2 separate regions of the Homo sapiens genome follow, and region 2 is linked to region 1. The links are contacts of gene promoters, found by promoter capture Hi-C in human tissues and cell types (Jung and others, 2019). All regions are on one chromosome and are shown on one strand. Each heading gives the region's core, a stretch centred on a gene start or on the middle of the fragment in contact. The rest is flanking DNA. Distances are from core to core; before and after follow the strand shown.

The links. The method cuts DNA at HindIII sites, captures the fragments that hold promoters and counts their contacts. A contact is called where the count stands out against the background at its distance.
Region 2: a fragment that was not itself captured here is called in contact with the fragment with the promoter of TBCE in region 1 in 3 of the 25 tissues and cell types used here (adrenal gland, mesenchymal stem cells and pancreas).

What each region holds. Positions count from the first base shown.
Region 1 is chr1:235,365,814-235,369,459 of GRCh38, reverse strand. It overlaps TBCE (tubulin folding cofactor E), which reads right to left and starts at 2,033. Exons shown (of 17, transcript NM_003193.5): 1 at 1,956-2,033. LOC124904559 (a long non-coding RNA gene) reads left to right here and starts at 2,040. Exons shown (of 2, transcript XR_007066957.1): 1 at 2,040-2,250; 2 at 2,837-3,107. RefSeq lists enhancers at 1,734-2,073, 1,613-2,326. The HindIII fragment of the contact is 12,392 bases long and covers 1-3,646 here.
Region 2 is chr1:235,287,229-235,290,874 of GRCh38, reverse strand. The region is part of intron 2 of ARID4B (AT-rich interaction domain 4B); the gene reads left to right. Among named protein-coding and RNA genes, the nearest start is that of ARID4B, 39 kb to the left of the region's middle. The HindIII fragment of the contact is 9,052 bases long and covers 1-3,646 here.

The sequences.
Region 1 (3,646 bases), core at 784-3,283:
TCTCGGCTCACTGCATCCTCTGTCTCCCGGGTTCAAGCGATTCTTCTGCCTCAGCCTCCTGAGTAGCTGAGATTACAGGCACGCACCACCACGCCCGGCTAATTTTTGTATTTTTAGTAGAGACGGGGTTTCACCATGTTGGCCAGGATGGTCTCGACCTCTTGACCTCGTGATCCACCCACCTCGGCCTCCCAAAGTGCTGGGATTACAGGCATGAGCCACCACGCCCGGCCGACTTTGGCTTTCACTCCAGGTGAAATGTGTAGTCCTTGGAGGATTTTTGAGAGGAAAGACATAAATCTGATTTTTTTTTAAAGGATCAACCGAGATACTGTGATGCAAACAGACTAAAAGAGGAAAGAGCAGAAACTACTGCAGTAATTCAAGTACGAGACAACGTAACTTGAACAAGTGAAGGTGATAACAAGAGCCTGGGAGTGTGGACAGATTTTAAAGGTGGAGAGTCCATAGGATTTGCTGATATATATGGAAGAGATTAATCAGGGATGATACCAAAGATTTTCATCTAGACAAATATTTCAGTAGTGACAATGAATGTAAATCCAATAAACCTGCTAGTCAAAAGGCAGACTGGGCTGGGCACGGTGGCTCACACCTGTAGCCCCAGCACTTTGGGAGGCTGAAGCAGGTGGATCACCTGAAGTCAGGCCTTCAAAACCAGTCTGGCCAACATGGCGAAACCCCATCTCTACTACAAATACAAAAAAAAAAAAATTAGCTGGGCATGGTGGCACACACCTGTCATCCCAACTACTCGGGAGGCTGAGGTGGGAGATATGCTTGAACCTGGGAGGCGTGGTTGCAGTGAGCTGAGATTGGGCCACTGCACACCAGCCTTGGGCGACAGAGCAAGACTCCATATCAAAAAAAAAAAAAAAAAAAAAAAGCAGGCTGTCCACTTAGATTAAAAAAAAAACCCAGAGATATGCTGTTTACAACAGTATATAAAATATGAGCATACAGAAAAGTTAAAACTTAAGAATATGAAAAACGTTTGAAGCAAGTATCAAAACACAGCGGCCGTGGCTAAATTAATGCCAGAGAAAAGAAAAGTCTTCTCTCTTCATCTCTACCTCCACTAACTTTCTCTAACAGTTTGGCAATTTGTTAACCCCGTCTTCCTGCCAGGACTGCTTCTCTGAGGATAAGGCTGTCACACCATCATTTGGATCCACCCACAACTTAGAACAGTCCCCATTTGGTAGTAAACACCAAGTAAAAATAGTTACTTTAGGCCGGGCGCGGTGGCTCACGCCTGTAATCCCAGCAGTTTGGGAGGCCGAGGCGGGTGGATCATCTGAGATCAGGAGTTCGAGAGCAGCCTGGCCAACATGGAGAAACCCTGTCTCTACTAAAAATACAAAAATTAGCCGAGCGTGGTGGCACGCGCCTGTAATCCCAGCTACTCGGGAGGCTGAGGCAGCAGAATCGCTTGAACCCAGGAGGCGGAGGTTGCAGTAAGCCGAGATCAGAGATCCGCGCCACTGCAGTCCAGCCTGGGCGACAGAGCAAGACTGTCTCAAAAGAACAAACAGTTACTTTAAGTGCTCTCCACCTATTTAACGTTATTTCTCTGTCATCACCAATGTTAACTGATTCGGAAGGACGAGGCTGTTCCTCTAAGGTGACACCTTGTAAAAGTCGTTGGTCGCCTGTACCATTTTCACCTCTTCCAAAGTGACATGCCAATTCTCTGAGAGAAGCTTAAAATGCTAGAGATCACGTGCGGCTACTCCTAAATAAGGCCTTCCAGGAGGCGCAGGGTGGCCCCAACCCAGCCGGCTGGACCGCCTCCCAGCGCACGGAGCAGGCAACGCCCGGCTCTGGCAATCTGGGAAGATTCCAGGAAAGGAAGAAAAGGCCAAGAGCACTGCAGGGTGACGCACCGGCCAGGAATGCTCGTTCCGAAAGCTCCCCGAACCTCTGAAGCTCACCTGCCCGCGGAGACTCCAGGTGTTCCCAGCAGCAGCCCCTCCAGCCAACTGCCCAGCAGCGAAGCTTGAGGCTCTGGCCGGAAGTGCTGTAGGAAGTCCCGCCTCCACCGGAGTGAGGTACGGCTGCTGGAGCATAGACGAGAATGTCAGCGACAGTATTGGAGGCCAGAGGAGTGGTCAGCCCACCCAAGCCCCGCCTCTGGGCGGGGGCCCAAGCGATTTCCGAGTGCTGAAACCTGGGATGACAGAGCAGCCCAGGGAAAGCGCGTGTTCCAGTTTACTAGATACCACAGAAGTGAGTTACAAATCCTGTAAGAGGTTCAGTTCCATGCGTATTGAGAGTCTACCACGTAGGCAGCATGCGGTGGTCAAAGAGAAGAATATAGTGTTGATACCGCCAAAACTAAAAAAAAAAAAAAAATTACCTAGTTAAAGCATAAGGCAGAATGAAAGTAAATGCAGTGATAGAAAAAATAATAGAAAAAGCAACTATCCTAGACATGTTAATTTCTGTTGAAACCGCCTTTGCAAAATTTTGACAGTAAGAGAAATCTGACATGGTTTACTCCTATCTTGATTCTAGCCTCACAGACTGGCTGTCTTTGCTCATTCCTGGGCACAGGACAAACTAACTTTGGGAGAAATTTAGTTTATAGTTTAAATGATAATAACCCTTCCCCAAAACTGCCCTTTTAAAACTAAATGAAAGGCCACCAAGTTAGGAGAATGAGAGGGTCCTGAATTCTTCTAAGTTGTAATTGTAGTTAAATGATTACCACCCATTATTCCACAGGTCACAAATTCGCATCTTCCCCAATCATTCCTGCAGATAACATCACTGTTGTAGAACCTAAGATTGGCCTTTTGAGATGTCTTTTCAGGTTTTTGCATTTCTGACAAGTGGATGGCCCCACCCTGACTCATCAACCTGGGGATCCACGAACCAACTCAGTGCAAGAGGACAGCTTCTACTTCTTATGATTTCACCTCTGACCCAACCAGTCAGCACTCCCCATTCCCTGGCCCCGTACCTGTCAAACTATCTGAAAAACCCCCTAACCTCTGAGCCTTTGGTGAGATGGATTTGAGTAACAACTCTGTCTCCCACGTGGCATGGCCAGCCTCGCGTCAATTAAACTTTCTTTACTGCAATGCCATGGTTTCTGTCAATTAATTTTGTTTGTGCAGCAGGCAGAAAGAACCCATTGGTGGATACCACAGACTCCACAACAAGAGCAGTTTGGGTAGAGTGAGTGTTAGCATTCCAAAACCAGACTGAAGTGAGGTGAAGTGGAAAGGAAATTGAGGGAGCAAAGCCAAATGACTCTTCCAAGAAGTGACCTTCTAATTGTCATATTAAATGGACACAAACAGTCAGTATCCTGCTGGATGTCTCTACTGTTTTATACTTTGATAGTTCACTCCTTGAAACTAGAAACTAGATATTACAGTGATTGTTTTTTCTTTGGAAGAGGGGATTAAAAACCACATTGGAAATCTGATAAAAGCTATCTACCTACACACAAATTTTGCGTATGATTTCAAGGACTGATTAATCCTTTGAAGCCCATGAATAGGCCTCAAAGGAATCCATGGATCCCAAACTAAGACTCTCCTCAGCAGGGCACGGTGGCTCACACCTATAATCCCAGCATTTTGGGAGGCCGAGGCAAGCAGATCACTTGAGCTCA
Region 2 (3,646 bases), core at 718-3,217, 79 kb after region 1:
ATACTGCCACTTGGCCTCCTGAAGCTCTGGGATTACAGGCGTAAGCCTCCACACCTGGCTGTTATGGAATTTTTGTAAATGTCTAGGGTTGTTCACCCATCACCACAGTCCAGTTTAAGAATATTTTTGTAATCCTTAAAAAGTTGTCTCCCCGTCTCTGGTCTTTCATGCCCATGTCCAGCTGCAAACAACCAGTTTCCTCAATTGTTTTTGCAGTTCTGTATAGGACAGATGTATAAGATTTACGATGTAACATAATTTATTTAGCCACACCCCTATTTTTGGACATTTAGGTTGTTTTTGACCTTTTGCTTTTACAAACAGGTCTGAGATGAGGTAACTTTGTACATATATTATTTCATACATCTGTAAGAGTATCTGTAGGATTAATTCCTAAGAGTAGGGTTACTGATTAAAGCACATGTGCTTTTTTTTTTTTTTGGTGATGGAATCTCATTCTGTCGTCCAGGTTGGCGTCATCTTGGCTCACTGCAACCTCTGCCTCCCTGGTTCAAGCAGTTCTCCTGCCTCAGCCTCTGGAGTAGCTGGGATTACAGGCATGCACCACCATGCCCCGCTAAGTTTTGTATTTTTAGTGGAGACAGGTGTCACCATGTTGGCCAAGTTGGTCTTGAACTCCTGACCTCAAGTGATCTGCCCGGCCTGCATTTTTTATTTCTATAATCGTTTCCCGTTCAGGTTATACAGATTTACATTCTCAGCAGCAATATGAAGGCTAACATTTTCCCATAACTTACCTGCCGTGTACATTACTAGACTTCTGAATTTCTGAATTTTTGCCAATCTGATAGTGAAAAATGGTGTGGGTTTTTTTTTTTTAGAGATAGAGTCTCACTATATCGTCCAGGCTGGAGGGAGTGTAGTGGCATGATAGGGGCACACTGCAACCTCTGTCTCCCAGGTTCAAGCAGTTCTTCTGCCTCAGCCTCCCAAGTAGTTGAAACTATGGATGCGTGCGAAAAATTGTGTTTTGAATTGTTTTTATTTAGTAGGTTTTACATCGAATTTATGAATGAGTATGAGCATCTTTTCAAGTGTTGAGTCCATTGTAATTCTTTTTATATGAAATATCCTTTTATGTCATATGCCCATTTTTCTGTTGAATGGTTGGCTTTTTTTTTTTTTTTTGAGGCAGAATCTCCTTCCTGTCCCCCAGGCTGGAGTGCAGTGGTCCAATAACGGCTTACTGCAGCCTTGAACCTCCCAGGCTCAAGTGATCCTCCCACCTCAACCTCCTGAGTACCTGGGGCTACAGGCACATGCTACCATGCTGGCTAATTTTTAAATTTTTTAATAGAGATAAGGCCTCACTATGTTGTCCAGGCTGGTCTCGAACTCCTGGGCTCAAGCACCTCACCTACCTCGGCCTCCCAGTGTTGGGACTATAGGAGTGAACCACTTTGCCTGGCCTGAATGGTTGGTCTCTAAAAAAAATTACTGATTTTAGATGTTCTTTATGTATGAGAGTCAAGCTCTTTAGTGATGTGAATTATAAATAACTTTTTGTAGAGTTTGTCATTTATATTTTGATATATTTGCTTTGTGTATTTTTTTGCCATTGAGCAATTTTTTAATGGTTAAATTTATCAATATTTTATAGCTCCCAAACTTTGAGTTAATTTACTGTTTGAAGTAAGTCATACATTGAATTCCCTTCCAGGATCATAATTTATTATGTCACTTTGAATTTAGCTGGACTTTTGGCCAGACCTACTGACTTGCATCTGTGATGAATAACTTTGAATATATGTTATCTCACACATGTGCAAGTATAGCTATTGGATGAATTTGGCCATTTATTCCTGGGGCCAGGGTTGTGTGTTTTTAATTTTGGTAATTATTGTTGAATAAATGGATCTTTCAAGACTGTTAAGATATTGCATTGCTAATAACTGGTGCAGAAATTAATGGTGATTTCTGTTCAAGATGCCAGATTGTTAAACTCCTCTAGGATTAGAAAAGTTTTGGTTGAAAATAGAACACTTAACTGTAACTAAGAGTCTTCTTTTTTCATTATGTGTTGGCCTTTAAGGCACCAGAATTATACTTCAGAAATTCCTTGGGAGAATTTGGGTTATGTCTTAAAATAAAAAATGTTCATGTTCTTTGTGCTCCCTTTTGATACCTACCCAGAAGCAGCCCATGTACAGGTGCACAAGGAAGCTGGCATGAATATGTTTGTGGCTGCCCTCTTTAATAGGGAAAAACAGAAAACCACTTAATATCACCAGTAGAGGACAAGCTAAATAACCATGGCAAATTCCTACAATGGTTATAGCACAAAATTAATTCGACAGTTTGTGTTTACTGATGTAGAAAGATCTCTAAAACATTTTTTGAATGAAAGAAAAGTTGAAAGACAGTATATTAAATGTAGTACCAGTTATGTAAAAATAGATTCACAGAAATGTTATTAAATATGGATACATGTACGTGTATGTAAGTGAAGGTCTGGAAAAAACCTGGAAGAACATATGCCAAAATGAGAATAGTGATTATTAATGGGAATTGAGTGTAGTAATTTAGGACTTACTTTTTTTTTTTTGAAATGGAGTCTCACTCTGTTTTTCAGGCTGGAGTGCAGTGGTGCAATCTCAGCTTACTGCAATCTCCGTCTCCTGAGTTCAAGCAGTTCTGCCTCAGCCTCCTGAGTAGCTGTGACTACAGGTGCCCACCACCACGCCTGGCTAATTTTTATATTTCTTTAATAGAGAAGGGGTTTCGCCATGTTGGCCAGCCTGGTCTTGAGAAATTCCTGACTTCAGGTGATCCACCCGCCTTGGCCTCCCAAAGTGCTGGGATTACAGGCATGAGCCACTGCGCCCAGCCACATTAATGTTTTATTATTTTTACAAGGATAATATGCTCATAGACTGTACAACTAAAGGCCAATTTAAAATTTATTTGGAAAAAATACATTGTTTTGTACATAGGTCCCTGTAAAGGCAGAGTAAGACTGGAAAAATACCCTAAATAAGGAGACAGTAGTTATGTCCCCGAGGGATGTGGGAACAGAGAAGATAAAAGGAGACATTTGCTTTTTGTATACTTCTGTATTTTTATAGTTTTATAAAGCAAATGAATTCATGCATTAATTTGTATGCTGAAGAAAGGACTAAATTCTTTAGGACCAGGAATTCATGTAAGAGTATCTCATTTTGTCAAGCTTATTTAACAGTACTTAGTGAAAATAGTAGCTGCCGGTTGAATTACTGGGTAGAGAATAAAGGTGTCAACAGAAATAGTTTACTAATTTGCTGATAATTAGGCATTAATTTGCTTGATGTGATGCATGTTTATTACTTTAGGGCAAGTAGAAAAATAAAAATAAGTAGATTCTTTCTCATATACCATCATGAACACTGGTAGTTTCTGGTACATTCAAGACAGAACACACAATGAGACTGTTCTTGCCCTGTAGCCTCACCTGGAATTTCCTTTTGTCTTCTGCTTTGTTACTACAACCTCCCCTGCAGTTTGGGTGTCTCTCTAGTTCTCTTTTCTTTGTTTAGTAGTCTGGGATCAGATCTGCTCTTCTGAAATAGAAGTCAGCAGTGAGGAGAAAAAAGGTAAAAAAAAAAAATTTATTTTTTCTGAGACAGAGTCTTACTCTGTCGTCCAGGCT